Regions from separate parts of the Homo sapiens genome. Here region 2 is linked to region 1. Evidence: promoter capture Hi-C in 16 types of primary human blood cells and fetal thymus (Javierre and others, 2016). All regions are on one chromosome and are shown on one strand. The core of a region is centred on a gene start or on the middle of the fragment in contact, and the rest is flanking DNA. Distances in the headings are between cores, read along the strand shown. Region 1 holds the start of BCL2L1 (BCL2 like 1). Region 2 has its middle 13 kb from the start of COX4I2.

The links. The method cuts DNA at HindIII sites, captures the fragments that hold promoters and counts their contacts. A CHiCAGO score of 5 or more calls a contact.
Region 2: a fragment that was not itself captured here is called in contact with the fragment with the promoter of BCL2L1 in region 1 in 10 of 17 cell types (M1 macrophages, total CD8 T cells, endothelial precursors and 7 more); the score reaches 7.5 in M1 macrophages.

What each region holds. Positions count from the first base shown.
Region 1 is chr20:31,721,211-31,728,021 of GRCh38, forward strand. BCL2L1 (BCL2 like 1) reads right to left here and starts at 1,658. Exons shown (of 3, transcript NM_138578.3): 1 at 1,408-1,658; 2 at 445-1,138. The coding sequence starts at 1,008. RefSeq lists enhancers at 1,277-2,032, 1,967-2,026, 2,033-2,787, 2,557-2,756 and silencers at 1,397-1,516, 1,567-1,676, 1,576-1,870, 2,077-2,526. The HindIII fragment of the contact is 6,728 bases long and covers 959-6,811 here.
Region 2 is chr20:31,647,179-31,653,989 of GRCh38, forward strand. No RefSeq gene overlaps it. Among named protein-coding and RNA genes, the nearest start is that of COX4I2, 13 kb to the left of the region's middle. RefSeq lists a silencer at 1,095-1,295. The HindIII fragment of the contact is 5,783 bases long and covers 17-5,799 here.

The sequences.
Region 1 (6,811 bases), core at 408-2,907:
AGACCCCTTGGGGGGAACAGATGGAGAGGTCTGTGGGTCATTGATGCTCATCATCTTCTCCAGGCATTATACTCATCACCCCTTTGTGTGTGAACCATTGTATAAGGTAAGGGAAACACCGAACTAACTTCCTACCCTCACAGGTTTGGGACTTAATGAACACATAGGCTACAGTTTTCTTTGCTGAGAAACTGGAACACAAGTATGGAATAGTGGAGTCATGGGGGTGACCAGGGTGAAAGATGCCTGATCTCTGAAGCACAGGGTCATTTGTATTTCCAAGGAGTTAACCTCTTGTGGTGAAATGAGGCCAGTCAGGTTTCCTCAACTATCAACGTCTCCAACAATCACCCAACACAACAGAAAGAGATACAGAAGAAGGGCTGTTGGGGATCTCTGACCAGAGGCCAAAGAAAAGGGACACACAAGGGGCTTGGTTCTTACCCAGCCGCCGTTCTCCTGGATCCAAGGCTCTAGGTGGTCATTCAGGTAAGTGGCCATCCAAGCTGCGATCCGACTCACCAATACCTGCATCTCCTTGTCTACGCTTTCCACGCACAGTGCCCCGCCGAAGGAGAAAAAGGCCACAATGCGACCCCAGTTTACCCCATCCCGGAAGAGTTCATTCACTACCTGTTCAAAGCTCTGATATGCTGTCCCTGGGGTGATGTGGAGCTGGGATGTCAGGTCACTGAATGCCCGCCGGTACCGCAGTTCAAACTCGTCGCCTGCCTCCCTCAGCGCTTGCTTTACTGCTGCCATGGGGATCACCTCCCGGGCATCCAAACTGCTGCTGTGGCCAGTGGCTCCATTCACCGCGGGGCTGTCTGCCAGGTGCCAGGATGGGTTGCCATTGATGGCACTGGGGGTCTCCATCTCCGATTCAGTCCCTTCTGGGGCCTCAGTCCTGTTCTCTTCCACATCACTAAACTGACTCCAGCTGTATCCTTTCTGGGAAAGCTTGTAGGAGAGAAAGTCAACCACCAGCTCCCGGTTGCTCTGAGACATTTTTATAATAGGGATGGGCTCAACCAGTCCATTGTCCAAAACACCTGCTCACTCACTGAGTCTCGTCTCTGGTTAGTGATTCTCTTCTAAGATCCAAAGCCAAGATAAGATTCTGAAGGGAGAGAAAGAGCTTCAGGAAAAAAAAATAATTAATATGCATGCCATTTACCCTAAAAATTCCATTCCCCCTCCAGGTACCAGAACTGGTTTCTTTGTGGGTCTTACGAAGGTCTGGGTCTAGGTTCCAAGATACTTCACTTAAGTCAAATCGAAAGCACCAGTGGACTCTGAATCTCCCACCAGCCTTTTCTACCCCCGTCTTCTCCGAAATGCCTTCCTCGGAAAGTCACTCCCTGGGCAGTCCCCCCCGCCCCACTCCCGCTCCCCCGCACCACCTACATTCAAATCCGCCTTAGGCAAAGGCAGGCAGGTGCAGCCCCCGGAAGATCTTTTGTATCACAGGTCGGGAGAGGAGGTGGCTGCGGGGATGCCGGTAACTCAGCCGGCCTCGCGGTGGCTGGCAAAAAAACCAGCTCCGGCCGGAGGGATCATGCGACCCGGCAGGCTGGGAGCCCAGAAGGCGACACAGGAATTGCGAAGCTCAGGAACCAGCCCCCTCGCTTGCTTCCTCCTCCATCGCCCGGATCGAGGGCGGCCGCTCCGCAGCCGCGGCCTCCTGCCACCCGGGAGCCCAGCCCCCTCTCTCTTGCACGCCCCTTGGCTCTCCGCCTCCTACTGGGAGCCAGGAGTACTCTCCCGGAGGTGGCTGGTATGGATTTAGTTGGTTTTTGTTTTTCTTTTTTCTATTTAAGCACCAGCCCAGGGTGAGGTGGAGGCGTCCGAAACCCTAAAGGGACTTCTCAATGGGGTTCAAGGTTTCAGTGAGGGACGCAGGGAGGGGGAAACTGCCTCAGATCTGCAATCTGACTTTGGGAAGGCCACCCCCAGGCCTGTCTGTGATGTTGAAGGCCGGAGACCCCCAACAAATGCCGCTGGTTTGCTCTGAATTCCCCAAAGGCCCAGAACGTGGCAGTTGGGGATTGCCGGGTCCTCCATTCCCCGCCCGGACACAATGGCCGCCGGCGCCCTGCACAAAGACTGGGTGAGGGTGAGGCGCTGGGCCTCTCCTCAGGTCAGGAAGAGGGGTCGAGGCCTGCTCGACGGCCCCACAGCTGAGACCACGTTTTCCTGGGGACAGGCCCAAAGTGGCTTTCTGGCGCCCCCGGGAGGGCTCCGGGGCCGGGGGCTGCACCTCTCCGGAGCCCAGGGTGGGCCGGCTGCGGCCTAGCGGCTTCTCGAGCTCACTAGGCCGGGTACCCGCCGAGCCACCGCCCCGTTGCTAGGCAACCGCCCTCCCCCGGGGGCGCCCCCTAGACCTTCCTGAGAGGAGGGGCCTCGCCCCCGGCGGTCCGCCCCAGCGCAGCCAATCAGCGAGCCCAGCCGGCACGGAAGCGGGACGGCGAAGGCTCCTATTGGGCGCAACGGCTGTCACGCACAGGGGAGGCGGCGCTCTCACCTGCGAGCCCCGCGAGCCGTGGGGGGCCACATCCCCCTTCATCGGCCCGGTAGCTTCCAGACGCAAGAGCTCTTCGCGGCCGAGTTCCGCGCCGCGGACCCGGGCCGGCCTACCTGGCTGCCGGCCTACCTGGCTGACTGCTCGCGCCGTCTCTCCCGAACAAGCCGGCCTCAGTTTCCCCTGAAGAGACAGGGGAACTTGCAAGCTCAGTCACTTCCGGTGCCGCGGCAACGCGCGCGAGCCCGAGACGCAAAGGGAGTGCGCGCCTTGAGTGACTGGCATCAGGACCGGGGAGAGATCGCCCCCTCGCGGTAGATCTGGGGAATCGGGAGGCGCAAAAAATCAACATTTATAATCACATTTCCATTTATTCATTCAGTCAGTCAGTCAGTCACTCATCAGTCAATCAGCCTATTTCATCCGTCCGTCAGTTTATATATAGAAGAAGCATCGCCTTGTGGTTAAGCACTTTGTCTGGATTCTAACTCTGCTAGTTAGGCAAGTTTCTCAACTGCTCTGTGCTTCAATGTCCTCAATTGTAAAATGGGTAATAGTACCAACCTCTCTCGTTGAGCTATTGTGATGATTAAGAGAGTTATTAATTGTAAACTCCATAGGACAGGCCGGGCGCGGTGGCTCACGCCCGTAATCCCAGCACTTTGGGAGGCCGAGGCGGGCGGATCACCTGAGGTTAGGAGTTCAAGACCAGCGTGGCCAATGTGGTGAAACCCCGTCTCTACTAAAAATACAAAAAATTAGCTGGGCGTGGTGGCGCATGCCTGTAATCCCAGCTACTCGGGAGGCTGAGGCAGCAGACTCGCTTACAGGAGAATCGTTTACAGGCGTGAGCCACCGCGCCCCGCCAATTTCCTTACACCCTGAACCACACAGTGTGTTATCAAATGTTTTATCCTTGCCAATTAGATGGGTAAAAACCGAAGGCACTTTCATATTTCTTTTTTTATTATGAATGAAGTTGAGCAATTTGTCATATTTTTTAGTCTTTCTTTGGAGGGTGGTGGATCTTGTATTGGTGAATTTTCTTCATATTGTTTACCCCTTTTTCAGGTGGTCTTTCTGTTGAACTCTTTCCTCATTTTTTTTTTTTTTTTTGTTATTGTTGTTTGTTCGAGATGGAGTCTTGCTCTGTTGCACAGGCTGGAGTGCAGTGGTGCTATCTTGGCTCACTGTAAACTCTGCCCGCCAGGTTCAAGTGATTGTCCTGCCTCAGCCTCCCTAGTATCTGGGACTACAGGTACACACCACCACGCCCGGCTAATTTTTGTATTTTTAGTAGAGACAGGGTTTCACCATTTTGGCCAGGCTGGTCTCAAACTGCTGACCTCAGGTGATCCGACTGCCTCAGCCTCCCAAAGTGCTGGGATTACAGACATGAGCCACCGTGCCCGGCCTTTTTTTTTTTTTTTTTTTTGAGACAGGGTATGTCACCCAGCCTGCAGTGCAATGGTGTGATCTCAGCTCACAGCAGCCTCGACCTCCCCATCCCAGGTGATCCTCCCACCTCAGCCTCCCCAGTAGTTGTGAATACAGGCTCGCACCTCCACACCCAGCTAATTTTTGTATTTTTTGTAGAGAATGGAGTTTCCCCATGTTGCCCAGGCTGGTCTCAAACTCCTGGGCTCAAGTGATCTGTCTATGTCGGCCTCCCAAAGTCCTGGAATTACAGGCATTAGCCACCACACCTGGCTCTGATTTACATTTTTTTTGCTGTTTTTCGAGATGGAGTCTTGCTCTGTCACCCAAGCTGGAGTGCGGTGGTGCGATCTCGGCTCACTGCAGCCTTCGCCTCCTGGGTTCAAGTGATTCTCCTGCCTCAGCCTCCTGAGTAGCTGGGATTACAGGCACCTGCCACCACGCCCGGCTAATTTTTGTATTTTTAGTAGAGACGGGGTTTCACCAGTTGGTCAGGCTAGTCTCGAACTCCTGACCTCGTGATCCGCCCACCTTGGCCTCCCAAAGTGCTGGGATTACAGGTGTGAGCCAGCGCGCCCGGTCTGATTTACATTTTTGAACCTATGGTGCCACAATTATCTCAATGTGAAAACTATCATTATGGAAGCCTCAGTGTGCTTTGGGAGCCCAGCAGAGGGCAGATAAACTCTGTCCACAGATAGGGGCTTTACTGAACTGGCCCTCAAAAGAATAGAATTTTGCTTGGGTGAGAAAGGATGTAGGAGCATTTTAAGCAGAAGATATTGCTTGAGCGAAGGCCTGGCAGCCCAGCGTGAGAGCCCATGGTGTCCTGGAAATAAATTGGGATGGCTGAGGGGAGTGGTGGAGAGGGGATGGAATATAAATGTGTATCCATGCGAGCAGCACATCAAATAGCACCAGAGGAGCCAGCAAAGATTTTTTTAAACCAGAAAGAACATGAAGAAATTTATATTTTGGAAAGATGGATACATATTTTGGAAAAAGAATTTTGCAAGTCTTGAAAATGGCTCTCAAATGATCTTTGACTGGAATCTAATTTAAAGAAAATAAGTTACATTTAAATCTAAAGAAAATAAGTTTTCTTTTTTATACTTCTCTATGTTGTCTACACATAACTTTGTATTTTTTTTCTTTTTTCTTTTTCTTTTTTTTTTTTTTTTGAGATGGAGTCTTGCTCTGTTGCCCAGGCTGGAGTGCAGTGGCATGATCTTGGCTCACTGCAACCTCTGCCTCCTGGGTTCAAGCGATTCTCTGGCCTCAGCCTCCCTCTTTTTTTTTTTTTTTTTTTTGATACAGAGTCTTGTTCTATCGCCAAGGCCGGAGTGCAGTGGCACAACCTCGGCTTACTGCAACCTGTGCCTCCCGGCTTCAAGTGATTCTCCTGTCTCACCATGTTGGTCAGGCTGGTCTCGAACTCCTGACTTTGTGATCCGCCGGCCTCGGCCTCTCAAAGTGCTGGGATTACAGGCGTGAGCCATTGCGTCCAGCTATTATTTTTAATTATATAACACTATCTAAAAACATGCTAACTTTGGCCGGGCACAGTGGCTCACGTCTGTAGTACCAACACTTTGGGAGGCCAAGGCGGGTGGATCACGAGGTCAGGGGTTCAAGACCAGCCTGGCCAACATGGTGAAAGTCCGTCTCTACTACAAATACAAAAATTAGCTAGGCATGGTGGCAGGTGCCTGTAATCCCAGCTACTCAGGAGGCTGAGGCAGGAGAATCACTTGAACCCAGGAGACAGAGTTTGCAATGAGCTGAGAGCATGCCACCACACTCCAGCCTGGGCAACAGAGTGAGACTCTGCCTCAAAAAAAAAAGAAGAATCCCAGAAACAGACCAGCCATGGTGGCTCACACCTGTAATCCCACCACTTTGGGAGTCCAAGGCGGAAAGATGCTTGAGCCCAGGAGTTCAATACCAGCCTAGGCAATATAGTGAGACCCCCTCTCTACAAAATAAAACAAAAACAAAAACAGAAAAAGAACAATTAGCCAGGCCTGGTGGCATACACCTGTTGTCCCTAGCAACTGAGTAGATTGAGGCAAAAGAATCGCTTAAGCCTGGGAGGTCAAGGCTACAGTGAGCTGTGATCATACCACTGTACTCCAGCCTGGGTGACAGAGTAAGACACCCTCTCAAAAAAAAAAAAAAAGGGAATCTCAGAAACATATTGAATGGAAAAAATGGCAAAAGAATAATGTAGGAAGATTCTACTTATATACAGTTTAGAAATAGGCAATATACAATTTAGAGTTTGTAGCATCTAGCTTCCTCCAAGATGGCACCTAAATATCCCTGCCTCTTCGTATTCATGCCTTTGTGTGTTTCCCTCCCACACTGAACCACAGTTGTTCTGTGTGACTAATGACAAATTACAGCGATGGAATGTTTCTTTCCCTCCCTTCTTCTCTCTCTCTCTCTCTTTCTTTCTTTCTTTTCTTGACAGGGTCTCGCTGTTGCCCAGGCTGTAGTGCAGTGACACAATCACGGCTCACTGCAGCCTTGACCTCCCAGGCCCAAGCAATCCTCCCACCTCAGTCTCCCTAGTAGCTGGGACCACAGGCATGTGCCACCACACCCAGCTAATTTTTGTATTTTTTTGTAGAGACGGTGTTTCGCCATATTGCCCAAGCTGGGGTTATGTCACTTTCAAGACTTTGTTACGAAAGATTGTGGCTTCAGCTGGGCGCGGTGGCTCATACCTGTAATCTCAGCACTTTGGGAGGCCGAGGCGGGTGGATCATGAGGTCAGGAGATTGAGACCATCCTGGCTAACATGGTATAACCCCATCTCTACTAAAAATAAAAAAAACAAAATTAGCTGGG
Region 2 (6,811 bases), core at 1,658-4,157, 73 kb before region 1:
CAGATGTGAGGCCTAAAGCTTGAGGCATCTGCATCAGGAGGATTGCTGGAAGATGGTCCCCGGGCCTGAAGCCTGCAATGTTGCTATAGGCTATGCACACTGGGCTCATGGCTGGGGCAGATCACCACTAAATGTCCTCACCACACTGCTAAGCAACCAAAAAACAGGAGCAAGAACAGCGCGTGCACACACACACACACAAACCTCCTCTCCTCCTGAAAGTCTCTTCTAGCACTGACTACTTGCAAAGCTCAGCATCTCACTGTCAAGGAGTTCAGTTCATCTCCAGTGTGCAGAGCAGAGTGCATTTGGAGCTGAGCAGTAATACATTGATAACTGGCCCAGCATCTTTCAGAAAGTCTTGGCTAGGCCAGTGGGAAGTCCCAGAGCAGTAATGCCCGCTAGAGGAGTCCTGTATTGGGCAAAATTAATGCATCCCTAGTGTATTAGGGTTCTCTAGAGGGATAGAACTAATAGGATAGATGTATCTATGAAAGGGAGTTCATTAAGGAGAATTTATTCACACGACCACAACGGGAAGTCCCACAGTAGGCCATCGGCAAGCTGAGGAGAAGCCAGTCTGAGTCCCAAAACCTCAAAAGTAAGGAGGACGATAGTGCAGCCTTTAGTCTGGCTGAAGGCCTGAGAGCCCCTGGCAAATCACTGGTGTAAGTCTAAGAGTCCAAAAGCTGAAGTCTGATGAAAAACTTGGAGTCTGATGTTCGAGGGCAGGAAGCACCCAGCATGGGAGAAAGATGAGGCCAGAAGACTCAGCCAGTTTAGTACTTCCACGTTCTTATGTGTGATTATTTATTTATTTATTTATTTGAGTCGGAGTCTCTCTCTGTCTCCCAGGCTGGAGTGCAGTGCCGTGATCTCAGCTCCCTGCAACCTCTGCCCCCTAGGTTCAAGCAATTCTCCTCTCTCAGCCTTCTGAGTAGCTAGGATTACAGGCATGGGCCACCAGCCTGGCTAAGTTTTGTATTTTTAATAGAGATGGGGTTTCACCATGTTGGCCAGGCTGGTCTTGAACTCCTGACCTCAGGTGATCCGCCCACGTTGGCCTCCTAAAGTGCTGGGATTACAAGCATGAACCACCACACCCGGCCCCTCTGTCTACTTTTAACCCAGCTGTGCTGGCAGCTGATTAGATGGTACCTACCCAGATTGAGGGTGAGTCTGCCTCTCCTAGTCCACTGACTCAAACATTAATCTCCTTTGGCAACACCCTCCAAGACACACCCAGGAACAATACTTTGCATCCTTTAATCCAATCAAGTTGACATTCAATTTTTTTTTTTTTTTTTTTTTTTTTGAGATGGAATCTCGCTCTGTCACTCAGGCTGGAATGCAATGGCGCGATCTCGGCTCACTGCAACCTCTGCCTCCTGGGTTCACGCCATTCTCCTGCCTCAGCCTCCTGAGTAGCTGGGACTACAGGCGCCCACCACCAAGCCTGGCTAATTTTTTGTATTTTTAGTAGAGACGGGGTTTCACTGTGTTAGCAGGATGGTCTCGATCTCCTGACCTCGTGATCCTCCCACCTCGGCCTCCCAAAGTGCCGGGACTACAGGCATGAGCCACTGCACCCAGCTGACACTCAGTGTTAACCATCACACCTAGTAACTCCATTGTGCTCAGTCCCTGGTTGGGAGCGGCCCAGAAAGATCATGGCCTCAGCATGAACACTACAGCAGGTCTGAAAGTGTGGCAGCTGGAGGTGGTCACACAACTACCCTCTTCATAGCAGGTTCTCTTGAAGAATCTGAGTAGCACGTCTCCATAGATGCCCTAGGTGCCAAAGGAAGAATTTAGCAAAGCAGTTGTGACAACAGTCATTCAACCAACAAATATTTATTGTGGATTTTAACTTAATCAGCTATTTATTTATTTATTTATTTATTTATTTATGAGACAGAGTTTCTCTCTTGTCGTCCAGGCTGGAGTGCAGTGGTGCGATCTCGGCTCACTGCAAGCTCCGCCTCCCGGGTTCAAGGAGTTCTCCTTCGTTCAAGCAGTTCTCCTGCCTCAGCCTCCTGAGTAGCTGGGATTACAGGTGCTCACCACCACACCTGGCTAATTTTTTGTATGTTTAGTAGAGATGGGGTTTCACTATGTTGGCCAGGCTGGTCTTGAACTCCTGACCTCGTGATCCACCCGCCTCGGCCTCCCAAAATGCTGGGATTACAGGCGTGAGCCACTGTGTCCGGCTTAATCACCTCTTTTAAAAGGTCTTATCTCCAAATGCAGTCCCATTCTGAGGTGCTGGGGGTTAGAACATCCACATATGAATTTGGGGAGACACAATTGAGACCACAATAGTTGGGCTCAGGGCTAGGCACGGTGGCTCACGGCTGTAATCCCAGGATTTGGGAGGCTGAGCAGGGCAGATCACTTGAGGCCAGGAGTTCTAGACCAGCCCGGCCAACATGGAGAAACCCCATCTCTACTAAAAATACAAAAATTAGCTGGATGTGTTGGTGCACGCTTGTAATCCCAGCTACTTGGGAGGCTGAGACACAAGAATCGATTGAACCCAGAGGTGAATGTTGCAGTAAACCGAGATTGTGCCACTCCACTCCAGCCTGGGCAATAGAGCGAGACTCTGTTTCAGGAAAAAAAAAGTTGGACTGAAGGTTATTCTGTTTGTCTTTTTGTTCTGGGACCAGTGGACACCTAGGGCATGTTCTTCTCATGGCAGAAGTCTGAGACTTTGGCAGGGCAGAGGAATGGGTGGGGACACTCTTAAAGTCCAGGCCCAAAACAAGCACACACAAAACTGCACCACATTCCACTGGCCAAGGTATTCCAATTATGATTGCTGCATTACAAACCTACCTGAGACTGACTGGCATAAAACAATTATTTTACTATGTTCAGAGATTCTGTGAGTCAGGGATTTGGGCCGGGTATGGTGGAAACCCCTTGCCTCTGCTCTAGAACATCCGGGGCCTCAGCTGGAAACACTCAAGGGCTGTGACTAGGATTGGCTGGAGGTGTTTTCACTCACATATGTAGCACTTGATGCTGGGACCACAGCTGGACCTCAGATCAACTGGAACACCACTTTGTGGCTTCCCTCCATGGTCACTCTGTGTGGACTAGTTTGGTCTCCCTTAAAACATGGTAGCTGGAGGTCGGGTGAGGTGGCTTATGCCTATAATCCCTGCACTTTGGGAGGCTGAGGTAGGCAGACCATGAGGTCAATAGATCGAGACCATCCTGGCCAACACGGTGAAACCCTGTCTCTACTAAAATACAAAAATTAGCTGGGTGTGGTGGCATGTGCCTGTAGTCCCAACTAGTCGGGAGGCTGAGGCAGGAGAATCACTTGAACCCGAGAGGCGGAGGTTGCAGTGAGCCAAGATTGTACCACTGCACACCAGCCTGGAGACAGAGCGAGACTCGGTCTCAAAAACAAAAACAGTGGCTGGGTCCCAAGAGAGCGAAGGGGAAGTGCCTTGTCTTTCTTTCTTTTCTTTTCTTTTTTTTTTTTGAGACAGAGTCTTGCTCTGTTGCCCAGGCTGGAGTGCAATGGCGCCATCTCGGCTTACTGCAACCTCTGCCTCCTGGGTTCAAGCGATTCTTGTGCCTCAGCCACCCAAATAGCTGGGATTAGAGACGTGCACCACCACGCCCGGCTTTTTTGTGTGTATTTTTAGTAGAGATGGGGTTTCACCATGTTGGCCAGGCTGGTCTTGAACTCCTGACCTCAGGTGATCCGCCCGCCTTGGCCTCCCAAAGTGCTGGGATTACAAGTGTGAGCCACCGTGCCTGGCCTGCATGGTCTTTTTATGATTCAGCTTCAGAAGACAAAAAGCATCATTTCTGCTGGAGCCCAATGGTCAAGGCACTACCAAAGGTACACCCAGGTTCAAGAGGGAGAGGACATGGAGTCCACCACCCAGTAGGAGGACATCAAGATCCCATTGTAAAATGTGGTGTGCATGGGAGAAGGGAAATTTCTTCTTTTTTTTTTTTTTAATTTTATTTTAAGTTCCAGGATACATGTGCAAAACATGCAGGTTTGTTACATAGGTAAACGTGTGCCACGGTGGTTTGTTGTACCTATGAACTCATCACCTAGGTATTAAGCCCCGCGTGCATTAGCTATTTGTCCTGATGCTCTCCCTCCCCTCGCCCCCACAGGCCCTGGTGTATGTTGTTCCCCTCCCTGTGTCCATGTGTTTTCATTGTTCAGCTCCCACTTATGAGTGAGAACATGCGATGTTTGGTTTTCTGTTCCTGTGTTAGTTTGTTGAGGATGATGGCTTCCAGCTTCATCCATGTCCCTGCAAAGGACATGATCTCATTCCTCTCTTTTTGAGACCAAGCCTCGCTCTGTCACCCAGGCTGGAGTGCAGTGGAACGATCATAGCTCACTGCAGACTCGAACTCCTGGGCTCAAGGAATCCTCCCGCCTCAGCCTCCCAAAGTGCTGGGATTACAGGCATGAGCCCTGCACCTGGCCAAGAGGGAAAATTTTTGAGATCATTTTCGAAAATACAGTCTACCACCCGAGGTCAAGCCCAGTGTCGATGGACAGATAAATATCCTACAGCCAGGATGTGCATGGAGGCATGAGGAGAGAAGGCAGAATTGTGAGCAGATAATAAAATATTCTACAGATGTGGAGAAATGACCAACACAAAATGAAGTTGAAGGCTGGGTGTGGTGGCTCACACCTGTAGTCCCAACACTTTTGGAGGTTGAGGCAGGAGGACTGCCTGAGGCCAGGATTTTGAGATTAGCCTGGGCAACATAATGAGACCTATCTCATTACGGTTGTTGTTGTTGTTGTTGTTGTTGTTGTTGTTGTTGTTTGAGACGGAGTCTTGCTCTGTCGCCCAGGCTGGAGTGCAGTGGCGCAATCTCAGCTCACTGACACTTCCGCCTCCTGGGTTGAAGCTATTCTTCTGCCTCAGCCTCCTGAGTAGCTGGGATTACAGGTGCATGCCACCATGCCTGGCTAATTTTTGTATTTTTAGTAGAGACAGGGTTTCATCATGTTGGCCAGGATAGTCTCCATCTCTTGACCTCATGATCTGCCCTCTTGGCCTCCCAAAGTGCTGGGATTACAGGCATGAGCCACCACGCCTGGCTGTGTCTCAGGTCTTAAGGTCCCTAGCTGGTCAGCCTTCTTTCCACTTTTCAGAGTTTCCTTTTCTTTTTCTTTCTTTCTTTTTTTTTTGAGATGGAGTCTCACTCTGTGGCCCAGGCTGGAGTGCAATGGCATGATCTCAGCTCACTGCAACCTCTACCTCCTGGGTTCAAGCAGTTCTCATGCCTCAGCCTCCTTAGCAGCTGGGATCACAGGCATGAGCCACCATGCCTGGCTATTTTTTGTATTTTTGGTAGATACAGGGTTTTGTCATGTTGGGCAGAATGGTCTCAAACTCCTGGCCTCAAGTGATCCATCTGCCTCAGCCTCCCAAAGTGCTGGGATGACAGGCATAAGCCACCGCGCCCAGCCTGAGTTTTCTTATTCTTATTTTATATACAGTGTCAAAGGTTCTTAGTTTTACTTAGGAGGAGAAATAGGGAAAAGTACATCTGCTCCATCTTCCTGGATGTGGAAGTCCAGTGGTTCTTCCTAATATATATTAAAATATCTTTTGATATATAATCTCTCTCTCTCTCCCTACCCCTCCCTCCCCTTCCATTTCATTTGTTGAAAAAAATTGAGTCATTTGTCCTGAGGATTTCCCCCAGTCTGTATTTTGGTAATTGCAATCCCATGTGTCTCTTATTATGCCCCTCTGTCCCCGTTGTTTTCTGTAAATGGTGATTACATTTAGAAGCTTAGACTCACGCTTGATTTTTTTGGCAAGAATATTTTATGGGTGTGCTGTGTTCTCTTGGCAGGCAGCACATGACGCCTGGTTGTCTTTGTGTAGCATTAGCAGCTTTCATTGGTCATTGTGTAGATTCATTAACTTATTAGGAGTACAGATGGCTTTCAAATACATGAAAAGATGCCAACCTCAATTAGATTTTTAAAAATGAAATTTTAAAGTATGAGTACTATTTTTTCATCTACCAGATTGACAAGGATCAGAGTGTTAACACGAATGTTGGCAAGAGTGCAGAGGACAGGCGATTTCATAGGCTGCCTGATTGGACTGTATCCATCAAAATGACTAATGTATACACCCTTTGGCCCAGCAATTCTACTTTTAGGGATGTACCCTGTGGATACATGTGCATATATGCAAAATGATGGATTGCAGTATTGTTTGGATTAGCAGGAGTTAAAGCCTGGGCAACATAGTGAGACCTTGTCTCTACTACAAATAAAAAAATATTAGCCGGGCATGGTGGTGCATGCCTGTGGTCCCAGCTACTTGGGAGGCTGAGGTGGGAGGATCCTCAAATTTGGGAAGTCAAGGCTGCAGTAAGTCACGATCATGTCACTGCGCTCCAGCCTGGGCAATAGAACAGACCCTGTCTCCAAAAACAAAAACAGTAACAACAGAAGTTGAGAACTACCAAATTGTTCCACCTGGAGTGCTACAAATTATCACAACTTGTGGCAGACGCTGTGGGCAATGTGCCTGCAGGATGCTCTCTGAAGCTTTGGTGGACAGTTCTCATTAAAGGGAACAGCCACCTGTGTGTTTTTGACCAAGCATGGGGCAGGCAGGAAATGCCAAACGTCAAGGAGAAAGTCCTGAAGCAGCCCTCCTCAGCCAATGAGGGATGAGTTGGTGGATAAACACCTTGGTGTTCTTTTCCCTCAGTGATAGAATTTTGAGCAGTGTTCCACGGGTTTTTCAAAGGATGCCCTGGTGGAGGAGCCCCATTGCCTGGA